2 separate regions of the Homo sapiens genome follow, and region 2 is linked to region 1. Evidence: promoter capture Hi-C in human tissues and cell types (Jung and others, 2019). All regions are on one chromosome and are shown on one strand. Each heading gives the region's core, a stretch centred on a gene start or on the middle of the fragment in contact. The rest is flanking DNA. Distances are from core to core; before and after follow the strand shown. Region 1 holds the start of PTPRS (protein tyrosine phosphatase receptor type S). Region 2 overlaps KDM4B (lysine demethylase 4B).

The links. Contacts are between HindIII fragments. The study calls those that stand out against the background at their distance.
Region 2: a contact is called between a fragment that was not itself captured here and the fragment with the promoter of PTPRS in region 1, in 2 of the 25 tissues and cell types used here (H1 embryonic stem cells and dorsolateral prefrontal cortex).

What each region holds. Positions count from the first base shown.
Region 1 is chr19:5,337,754-5,343,487 of GRCh38, forward strand. It overlaps PTPRS (protein tyrosine phosphatase receptor type S), which reads right to left and starts at 3,059. Exons shown (of 38, transcript NM_002850.4): 1 at 2,911-3,059. It overlaps LOC105372252 (a long non-coding RNA gene), which reads left to right. Exons shown (of 5, transcript XR_936279.3): 5 at 1-313. RefSeq lists an enhancer at 447-1,120 and a silencer at 2,987-3,266. The HindIII fragment of the contact is 6,208 bases long and covers 1-5,734 here.
Region 2 is chr19:4,987,821-4,993,554 of GRCh38, forward strand. All of the region lies in intron 1 of KDM4B (lysine demethylase 4B), which reads left to right. Among named protein-coding and RNA genes, the nearest start is that of KDM4B, 22 kb to the left of the region's middle. RefSeq lists enhancers at 721-1,226, 1,227-1,731, 1,948-2,449, 2,450-2,949. The HindIII fragment of the contact is 6,577 bases long and covers 1-5,662 here.

The DNA of each region.
Region 1 (5,734 bases), core at 1,809-4,308:
TCCACGAAGCTTCCCCCTGTTCCATGGTGGAAATTGGGGGAAAATGGACTTGTGTCTCCAAGCAGGGTCCATGGACACTGGACGATGCCTGAAATCCCCTGGGAGGCAGGGAAAAAAGGCGCACTGAACGCTCAACCGGGGTATAAGGAGTGATTTTTTTTTCTCTGCTGGCAGCAGGCAGGAACCTGGGGTTTGAATGTCCCCTTCTCTGTCGCCACCTCACGCAGACTTCAGAGGCTCTCAAGGTTTCCTGGAGAGGGGGAAATCGTCCCCGGAGCTGACCTGCCAACCAGTAGCACCCTCCAGCGCCTCAGCCGGGCCACGCCAAAATGACCTGTCACCCATCTCCCGCGGGGAGTGGGGAGCGGGCCAGTCCACCGCCTCTTGGGACGGCATCTCTGGACGGCCACTGACAGTACCAGTCTCTGTCACCCCCTGGGGGGTTAGGGGCAATGTCATCGGCCAGGGTGGCAGAAATAGAAAAGTGCGTGAGCTCACCAGGCAGCCTGGGTCTCCTGCGACGTTTTGTTTGCCTGAGCCCAATTAGAACAACTCTCAGGATGATGGAGTATGGCGGGCGGTGGCCCCCAGGGGGCTGGGAGGCCTAGCCCCCATGCAGAAGTGCACCGTCATGATGAGGGTGTCCCCCGGGCCTGGGGAACAGGGCAGGACCCTGCTTCCCGGAGGGAAATAATGAAGACTCCGCCAGCCTGCCAGCCAGAAAGAGATGCCCCACGGAAGGCTTTGTGGAGGGCAGCGGGGGGGTAGGGGAGGGATGCCCAGGTGGGGACTCAGTCAGGCCCAAGCTGGGGGGCTGTGGGATTTGAGGGCGGGAAGCAGCCGCCCCCAGCCCCAGCTGCCTGCCTTCCACCGCCAAAATATCAGCTGGCAAAGAAAGAAGAGCAGAGGGACAGAAGGCAGGCGCGATTGGCAGGGGGAGGGGGGCACAAAGGAAGGGACCCTGGGAGGGGGAGGGGACTTATGCAAATGGCAGATTCGACCAAGTCCCTGGGCCATTAATAAACGCTCCAGCAGCTGCCGCTGGTATCGCAGGAGCAGAGGAGCGGGATGGCTTCCTTCTCCCGGGCGAAAGGCGGCAGAAAGAGGGAAGAAGGGCGCCCCAGACAAAGAGGCGCCGTCACCCTCTGCACCCCAAGGACAGCAGCGATAGGGGGCCACCCAGAGGAGGCCAGAATCCCAGCAGCCAAAGTCCGGGTGGTGGCGGACGGGAGCCCGGAGCGTGTGGGTCCCTGTCCTTGGGACCCTAGGGGTCTCTTCCTGCCTCCTCCGGCTTCTAGGTATCATCCCTGCTGCTCAGCCGGGACTCCGACACCTCGGACACCCGCTTCACTAGCCGCGGCTGCCGGGATGTGTTTTTAGGGTCTCGGCCAGAGGCAGGAGGACCCCATGCTCAGAAGGGGGCTCCCCTAGATTGTGACGGGGGGGGACAGGGGAATCCCAGCTGAGCCCAGAAGGGGGAGGCAAGGCACCCCCAATGAGGCTCTGGGAGGTTTGTTAATTTGGGGGAATGAGGTCCCAGGAGGTGGCTGGATTTGAGGAAGGGTTGCAGAGGAAGGGGCGTTCTTGGAAGCTGCATATTTAGGGAGACGAGAAGACGATTTGAGACTGGGGAAAGAGGGTCAACCGAAGAAGGAGGTCCCAGATTTGGGGCGGGGGGTGTGGCTGAAAAAAAGATTCCCAGTTTGTGGGAAAGGTTCCCTGATTTGAGGATTCTGGAGAGAAAGCGGCCGAAGGGGAGTTCCCCAATTTGGGAAGGGGGGGAATTGGTGGGAAATGTCCAGGATTTGTAGGGGGAGGTCCGAAGGGGAGGATCTTAATTTTAGGAGAGATTCCCATAAAGAGAGGTGAACTTGGCCGCAACCTGGCCGAACCCTCGCACCCACGGCGCGGGCACTCTAACCTGGGGGGCTCCCCTCAGGGCACGCCCCGCGCCCCCTTTAACCCAGTGCCGACGGCCCCGCCCCCGGTATGACGTCACCTCCCCTCCCCCCGCAGCCCCCGGGGGCTCCCGGGGCGTGCGGAACCCGCGGGGCTGGCGGTTCCAGGGGCGGCTTCCCCACTCTCGGGATCCCCACGGGGCCCCCAGCGCGGAGGGGAGACTGGGGTGCTGGGCGTGCGCGTCTGCCTGCCAGAGCCCCTGGGGCTGGGGGCTGAGGCTCGCCCCTGGGTGGGGAGGCTGGAAGGGGGCGCCGAGGCCGCAGAAGGGTGGGGCAATGCCCGAGTGCCGGAGGGGCGACCTCCCATAAGGCAACGACAGGGCCCGGAGTGTTCCAGGGGAGACGGCGTAGACTAGGGGGTCTCCAGGGGAGGGAGACCCGGAGAGGGAAGGCGGCGGGCGCAGCAGCCCTGGAGCCACCCCGCCTGGAGCCACCCGTCCCGGCTCCTCTCCGCTCCGGGGCGCCCGCATGCCCCCCATCCCCCGGCACAGCGCCCCCTGCCTCCAGGACCCGCCCGGGGACCCGGGCCGGGCGCCGCCGGGGCCGGCACCGGCTCCGCACACACGCGCGCCCCCCTCCGCGCCTCTGCCCCGCCCGCAGCCCGGGGTGGTGCAGCCGGCGGCGCTGGGCAGCTTCCAATGCCGCGCTCTGGGCGCTTCCAGCCCAGCCCCCTCCCACGCCGCGGACGAAGCCCCCCCAGCACCCCCTGCCGAGCGCCCCCAGCGCGGCCCCGGCCCTGTCCCTCGGGGCATTGTCCGGGCGCAGCTACCGGGGCGCAGCGGCTGGGCGTGCAACTGGCTGCAGCCGAGCATCCTCCGAGCACAATGGCCGTGCAGGCTTCCCCGGCACAAAGCCGGCGCGCTGCCCACTCGGCTGCCTCCGAGACCCCCCTTGGAGCGCCTGCATTTTTTTTTCCTCTAATCCATGATTTTATTTTTTTTTTTGGCTTTACCTGGAGGCTGGCTGGGCTGGGCTCCCCCGGCTCTGCCCCGCTTCACATCGTGGCTGTTGCATGGGATCCGAGCGGAGCCCGAGCGCCAGCGGCTCGCGGCGTGCGCGCGCCGGCCGGGCTGCCGGGCGGGCGGCGCGAGGACACTCACTGCGGCTCGCGCTCCCCTAGCTCCCGCTCGCGCGCCCCCCCAGCCGGTGACGTCATCCCTTCCGCCAGCGCCGCCGCCGCCGCCGCCGGGTCGGGGGCAGGGCCGGCCCGTGCGCGTCACTGCGCAGCCGCGCGGCCGCCACGCCCCCCGGCCAATGGGACGGCGCAGCGCGGTCACGTGGCTCCGGGGTGTTTAAAGGGCCGCGGGAGCACGTGGGGCGCGGGGCTTCGCGGGACACGTGGGCGGCTGGGGTGGTGGTGGTGGTGGCGGCTGCGGCGGCGGCGGGAAGGGCCCCTGGGGCTACTGTCCGTGCGGGAGCCCCAGCGTCCTGGGTGCAAAGGGCATGGCACTTTCTGTGCGCTGCCCTAAACTGTGCCACGGCTCCCCAGTACCCTTGGAATAAAATCCCGCCTCCTCTCTGCAGCTCGCCGTTTCACATTAGCGCCCACTACCCTGTCCCCTCCCCCCCACCATGTCAATGATCCAGAAAAACCAGCTGCTCCTTCTTTGCTTTTTCAGAGATGGGGTCTGCCACCTGGGCCTCAGTACAGTGGTATGATCATAGCTCACTGCAGCTTCAAACTCCTGGGCTCAGGTGATCCTCCCGCCTCAGCCTCCTGAGTAGTTGGGCTCGGGTGATCCTCCCGCCTCAGCCAGCTTCTTACAGTTCCTCTAACTTGAGCATCCAAGAACTTCCCCTTCTCATCTTTCCAATTTCTGCTCAAATAAGCAGCGCCTGGGAGAAGCCCTCCCTGACAACAGCTACCAGCCACGCCCCACTCCACTCTATCCCATTATCCCGGTTTGTTGTTGTTGTTGTTGTTTGTTTGGTTTTGAGTCGGAGTCTCACTCTGTCGCCCAGGCTGGAATGCAGTGGCGTGATCGCGGCTCACTGTAACCTCCGCCTCCTGGATTCAAGCTATTCTCCTGTCTCAGCCTCCGGAGTAGCTGGAATTACAGGCGTGCTGTCACCACGCCTGGCTAATTTTTGTATTTTTGTTAGAGACAGTGTTTCACCATGTTGGCCAGGCTGGTCTTGAACTCCTGACCTCAGTGATCCGTCCACCTCGGCCTCCCAAAGTGCTGGGATTACAGGCGTGAGCCACCGCGCCTGGTCCCATTATCCCGTTTTTATTCTAGTTACACTACAGTGTGGCTCCAGAGATCCCTATTGTAGGTTGAACACATGAATGAATGGATGATGGAGCACTTCTTATAGAGTAAGCACTTTACACAGGTCTCACCTAATTACCATCCCCTGCTTCCCTGGAGTCAGGACGAGCCACAGTTGGAACCCAGCTAAAACACTGATTTGCTGTGTGAGGCCCGGAGCCTCACTTTCCCCATCTGTAGAATGGATTTGCCTCTGGATCTCAGCTCTCATCTGTAAAATGGGGCAAGGTAGCCCCTGCTCCTAAGGAGGGTGTGATGATGAATTGCTATAATGTGGCAGCCTGGCTGCCATTGGTGCCTGAAGATGGAATAATAAGAGAAAAGAGGCCGGGCCCGGTGACTCATGCCTGTAATCCCAGCACTTTGGGAAGCCAAGGTGGGCAGATCACTTGTCAGGAGTTCGAGACCAGGCTGGCCGACATGGCGAAACCCCATCTCTACTAAAAATACAAAAATTAGCCGAGCGTGGTGGCAGGTGCCTGTAGTCTCAGCTAGTTGGGAGGCTGAGGCAGGAGAAACTCTTGAACCCGGGAGGCGGAGGTTGCAGTGAACCAATATCACACCACTGCACACTCTAGCCTGGGCGACAGAGTGAGACTCTCAAAAATAAGGAAAAAAAACAGAGCGGAAGTAAATAAAAGGGGGATATTGACAAAGGTAAGGGGGTTGGAGGGCTCACAGCCACCAAGCAAGATTGCACATCAGTCCTTGTGTTTTGATCATGTCGAAAGCATTTATTTCCTCAAGGCACATATTTGGAGAAGGCCTGGTGCCCAACAGAGGAACTCAACTTTAGAATTGGTTTTTTTTTTCCTCCAAAATTGTTGATTCATTCATTCCAGGCCACAGATGCAGATAAACAAAAAGCATTAACCCGGGGAACAAAACGATAAGGCGGAAGTCATAAACAGGAGAAAAGAGAGGAGATAATGAATAATTTAACAAGGAACCTAATTTAAGCTTGGAGTTTCCCAGCGGCCAGTGCAGCAGCCACGTTTGCAGAGCCTACTTTGTTTTTCTTCCTGGTGGGGTGACCCTGATCTGACCGTTTACAATCTGGCCTCAGTTTTCTCATCCAAGCAATGGGAACACGATCCCATCTTGAAGGATCAAATGGGGTGGTCTGTGCACAAATGCTTAGCGTGGTTTCTCACGCACAGTGGGTGCTGAAGCCTTGGAGAATTGGTGGAGACACAGTAAAATGAGATGGCTGATCGTGGAGGGGCTGATCATGGCACGAACCCCAGCCCAGTGACCTGTTTGGGAGGTGACCTCAAACAAGTGGCCGCAACACTGTAAGCCTAGCTGTCCCCATCTAGAAAAGGGGGACAACCACTAGTACCTCTGAGGGATTTTGTGAGCAGTCAAAGAAAACAGATTAAATACATCAAAAACAGAATTAAAATACATTGTAGCAGCTGGGCGCGGTGGCTCATGCCAGTAATCCCAGCACTTTGAGAGGCCAGGGCGGGTGGATCACCTGAGGTCAGGAGTTCGAGACCA
Region 2 (5,734 bases), core at 1,124-3,623, 350 kb before region 1:
ATGGCTCAGGAGAAGGGGGTCTGGGCTGGGGCTGCGGCCTGGACTGGGGGTGGCTTTTGGAGGTAGACAGGATAGGCCTGGCTGGTGGGTTGAATGTGGAGTGGGGAGATCACTGCTACTCCCAGGGTGCAGCAGCTGGTTTCACGCCCCCAGCTCGGCCACTTCCTGCACAGCGATGTGGTCTTGGGCCTGAGAACGTGGGAATAACAAACTCAGTTTCTCCCAGGCTGTCAGAGCAGTCACAGATCCCTTCCAGCACACGCGAGCAAAGCGGTGCAGGGGCAGGAGCTGGGGCCCTCCGTTCAGTTCACTCCTACCTGGGGGCTGCATCGGGCAGGACAGGCTGCGGGCTCCTCCCCACGTACCTAACCCCACGGCCCATGCCAGTCACAAGCCCCAGGCTGTGTCCTGAGCTTCTGCTGGACGCGCTGGAAACCAGCCTTCTCATGAACCCTTCTTTTTTTTTCTTTTTTGAGACGGAGTCTTGTTGTGTTTCCCAGGCTGGAGTGCAGTGGTGCGATCTAGGCTCACTGCAAGCTCCGCCTCCTGGGTTCACGCCATTCTCCTGCCTCAGCCTCCGGAGTAGCTGGGACTACAGGTGCCCGCCACCACGCCCGGCTAATTTTTTGTATTTTTAGTAGAGACGGGGTTTCACCATGTTAGCCAGGATGGTCTCAATCTCCTGACCTCGTGATCCACCCGCCTCGGCTTCCCAAAGTGCTGGGATTACAGGCATGAGCCACCGTGCCCGGCCTCATGAACCCTTCTTTGAGCTTAATTTGCTAATGCACCTCTCAAAACTCAGGGGAGCTGTTACTTACGTTTACCAGCTTATTAGAAAGGATTTTACAAAGGAGGCAGATGAAGACATGTGTAGGGTGAGGGATGTGGGAAGGGGCACAGAGGGTTCCGTGCTCTCCCCGGGCTGTGACGTCTCCAGGAACCTCCACGCATTCATCTGTGGGGAAGCTTCCATCCCAGTCCTCCGGGTTTTACCTCAGCTTCCTCGCAGAGGCTTGGGTGACCTCACTGCATTGGCCTGGGTGATCAAGTCAGCCTTCAGCCACATGCCCCTCCCCTCCCGTCCAGCCTGGGTCTTTTCAGTGAGCAGCCCTATTCCCTCAGCTCCCGAGGGGCTGCCAAGCCCTTAGTCACCTCATTAGCACACTGGAGAATTCCGAGGATCTGGGGGAGTCGTAGGCCAGGAAACAGGACAAAATGTATTTCACAGTCTCACTGGGCCGGTCCCTTGCCTCCGCTTCCTTGTCTGTGATGAGAGGACGGGAGGGTGGCTGTCTGGACAGTGCTGAAGTGGTAGAGGTGAGTCGCTGCCGTGGAGGGCTTGGCAGGGTGCTCTGTGAAGGGCCCTGTGGCCTGGGGTGGAAGCCGCTTGCAGAGTGCTGGTTCTTTGCCTAAGGATGGTGGGGCAGGGGGGCCGTGTTCACACGTGCTGTTGGCTGTGTCTGCCAGTCTTCCTTTCTTTTTTCTGTTTCTGTTTCTTTTTCTTTGTTTTTTTTTGTTTGTTTGTTTGTTTTGAGACAGAGTCTTGCTCTGTCGCCCAGGCTGGAGTGCAGTGGCACGATCTTGGCTCACTGTAACCTCCGTCTCCCAGGTTCAAGCGATTCTCCTGCCTCAGCCTCCCCCAGTAGCTGGGATTACAGGCATGCACCACCACGCCCAGCTAATTTTTTTGTATTATTAGTAGAGACAGGGTTTTACCATGTTGGCCAGGCTAGTCTTGAACTCCTGACCTCAGGTGATCCGCCTGCCTCAGCCTCCCAAAGTGCTCGGATTACAGGCATGAGCCACCATGCCCAGTCTTCTTCTTCTTCTTCTTCTTTTTTTTTTGTGAGATGGAGTTTCACTTTGTTGTCCAGGCTGGAGTGCAAGGGCACGATTTTGGCTCACTGCAACCTCTGCCTTCTGGGTTCAAGCGATTCTCCTGCCTCAGCCTCCTAAGTAGCTGTGATTACAGGCATGCGCCACTGTGCCCGGCTAATTTTTGCATTTTTAGTAGAGATAGGGTTTCACCTTGTTCACCAGGCTGGTCTTGAACTCCTGACTTCAGGTGATCCACTCGCCTCGGCCTCTCCGAGTGCTGGGATTATAGGCGTGAGCCACGGTGTCTGACTCAGTCTTCCTTTTCATGTCATCCCTTGTTAATTTCCTTTAGAAACAGTTTGGGCCAGGTGCAGTGGGTGGCTTATGCCTGTCATCCAAGCGCTTTGGGGGGCTGAGGTGGGAGGATCACTTGAGGCCAGGAGTTCAAGACCAGGCTGGGCAACATAATGAGACCCAGTCTCTACAAAAAAATTAAAAGCTTAGCTGAGCATGGAGGTGGCACCTGTAATCCCAGCTACTTGGGAGGCTGAGGCAGAAGGATCGCTTGAACCCAGGAGGTTGAGGCTGCAGTGAGCCACGATTGCACCAGTGTGCTCCAGCCTGGGCAAAAGAGTGAGACCCTGTCCCCGCCCCACAAAAAGAGGGTCAGAACCTTGGTGTTAGAGCAGTTCACTTCCACCCAAAAACAGGGACTTAGAAAGGGAGACACTTGTGTGGAGCCCGAGGCAGACATGCCCTGACTTAGCAGTGCAGGTTTCTGTACTGGAATGAGGGCCTGGGGCAGGTGGCCTCTGGCAGGATGCATCTGTTACCTGAGTCTGAAGGCAGCGTGGCGAGGAGATGGGAGGGCTGTGCCTGGGATCCTGGGGCCGTGGAGAGCTCATCTAGAGGTCATGAGTATTGGGCAAAGCTCACATGCCGTGTTTTAATACTGTCATTATGGAAGTTGGCCTGGGGGTAATCCAGTGTCTCTTTTAGATCTGTGTTGTACAAACACTGAACTAGTTCTGGTCGCCTCTCCGGCCTTTGTTTTGGGGAGAATATTCGATGAGATGGCCCGTAATTCTAACACTGTGCATTTTGAAGGATATTTATAAACCCGGATGGATAAGGCCCTTCTTAGTGCTATTCTTGTGTTGGTTCCCTTTATTATTTTTTTTAAAAAACTTTATTATGGGCCGGGTATGATGGCTCACGCCTATAATCCCAGCACTTTGGGAGTCTGAGGTGGGCGGACCACCTGAGATCAGGAGTTCGAGACCAGCCTGACCAATATGGTGAAACCTCGTCTTTACTAAAAATACAAAAATTAGCTGGGCGTGATGGCGGGCGCCTGTAGTCCCAGCTACTAGGGAGGGGACAGGAGAATTGCTTGAACCCAGGAGGCGGAGGATGCAGTGAGCTGAGATTGTGCCGCTGCACTCCTGCCTGGGCGACAGAGTGAGACTCGGTCTCAAAAAATAGTAAAGCAAAAAATAAAAATAAAAACACTGTTATGGAGAATTTGACTACACAGAAAGGTAGACAACATGGAATAACGAGCCCCCCAGGCCCCTCACCCAGCCCCAAAACCATCAACCCATGGCAACCCCCCCTGCCCTACCCCCATCTGTGGTGAAATAGCCCTCATATTATTTTTGTTAACTTTTAATTTTTAAAGAATTACAGAGGCTGGGTGTGGTGGCTCACACCTGTCATCCAGGCACTTTGGGAGGCAGAGGTGGGAGGATCACTTGAGTCCAGTAGTTCGAGACCAGCCTGGGCAACACAGTGAGACCCTGTCGCTACAAAAGCAAAAATAAGAATGAATTATAGACTGCCAAGGTGTTGCAAAAATAATAAAGAGATTTCCCTAGGCTTCACCCTGCTGTCTCCAGTGGTAACATTTTACATAACTTTAGTGTCCCGTTAAAACTAGGAAATTGACACAGGACACTGTGGCTTCAGACCTTCCTCAGGCGTCCTCAGTGTTAGCACTGGCTCATTCTTTTGGTAGAGTCTTTGCGACATTCTGTTACCTGCACAGATTCCAGGAACCACCATTGCAATCAAGATACAGAACTGTTCTGTCAACACAAAGGAACGCTCTGCTTCTCCCTTCTGTCACCCCCAGGCCCTGGCGACGGCTGAGGATCTCTGCATCTCTGTAACCTTGCCCTTTTGAGAATGTTATGTAGATGGAATCACAGCGTATTTAACCTCTTGGGATTGGGTTTTTTCGCTTGCAATCTGTCGAAGTTGTTGTGTGTATCAGTAGTTACTTTCTTTTATTACTCAGTAGTTCTCCATACGGGTGTTGTTTTCTCATTCTGCTTATTTCTGTGAGACGGGTGGCAGTGGTAAGGTCCCATCTTTCATTCCCGATTTTAGCAATTTGAGTTCTCCAGAGATGGAGGACAAGATCCAAGGTTGCCAGGGCCTGGGGGCGACAGAGTGGAAGCAGAGTGAGTTCCTTTGTGTTGACGGAACAGCCCTGTATCTGATTGCAGTGGCGGTTCCAGGAATCTGTGCAGATAACAAAATGTCACGAAGACATTTACCTTCGACAGTTTTACTGGTCTTTTCAAGGGACCGACTTTTGGTTTCATTGGCTGTCTCTATTTTGTTTATTTTTGCTCGTTATCTTTGTTACGTACTGTGCTCCATCTGCCTTAGTTTCCGTGTGCTCTTCTTTTTCCAGTGTCTTAAGGGAGATGCTTAAATTAATATTTGAGATCTTCCTCTTTTTAAAAACTGTATAGGCAATTATAAATTTCCCTCTAAGTACTGCTTTAGCTGCAACCTGTACTTTTTTTTTTTCCTTGCGATAGGATCTTGCTCTGTTGCCCAGACTGGAGTGCAGTGGTGCAGTCACAAATCACTGCAGCCTTGACCTCCCGAGCTCAAGCAATCCTCCCACCTCAGCCCACCAAGTAGCTGGGACCAGAGGCATGTGCTACTATCCCTGGCTAATTTAAAAAATAATTTTGTGGAGAGGAGGTCTCACTATATTTCCCCAGGCTGGTCTCGTACTCCTGGGTTCAAGCATTCCTCTCACCTTGGCCTCCCAAAGTGCTGGGATTACAGGCATGAGCCACTGTGTCTGGCCATCCTATAAGTTTTACTTTGTTGTGAGTTCATTTTCATTCACCTCAAAATATTTTCTAATATTTTCTTCCTGTTCAACCCTGTGATTATTTAGGAGTATGTTGGTTAATTTCCATGTACTTGTGAATCCCCAAATTACTTTCTGTTGTTGATTTCTAATTTCCATTGTGGTTGGAGAACTTACTTTGGATGATCTGAATTCTTTTCAATTTAATGAGGCTTGTTTTATGGACTAACATATGGTTTATCCTGGAGAATGTTCCATATGTACTGAGAAGAGAATATGTTCTATAGATTCTTTTGGCTTATAGTGCTCAAGTCTCTCTCTTTGTTGCTCTTCTGCTAGTTGTGTTATCTTTTATTGAAAGTGAGGGTATGAGCCGGGCATGGGGGCTCATGCCTGTAATCTCAGCACTTTGGGAGGCCGAGGTGAGTGGATCACCTGAGGTCAGCAGTTTGAGACCAGCCTGGCCAACAAGGCAAAACCCTGTCTCTACTAAAAACACAAAAATTAGCCGAGTGTGGTGGCGCATGCCTGTATTCCAGCTACTCGGGAGGCTGAGGCACCAGAATCGCTTGAACCCGGGAGGCAGAGGTTGCAGTGAGCTGAGATCACCCCACTACCCTCCAGCCTGGGCGACAGAGTGAGACTCCATCTCAAGGGAAAAAAAAAAAAGAAAGTGAAGGTATTGACATCTCCAGCTATTGTTGAATTACTTCTCCTTTTATTTCTGTCATTTTTTGCTTCATGTATTTTGGGGCTCTGTTATTAGATGCATATATGTTTATAATTGCTGTATCTTGC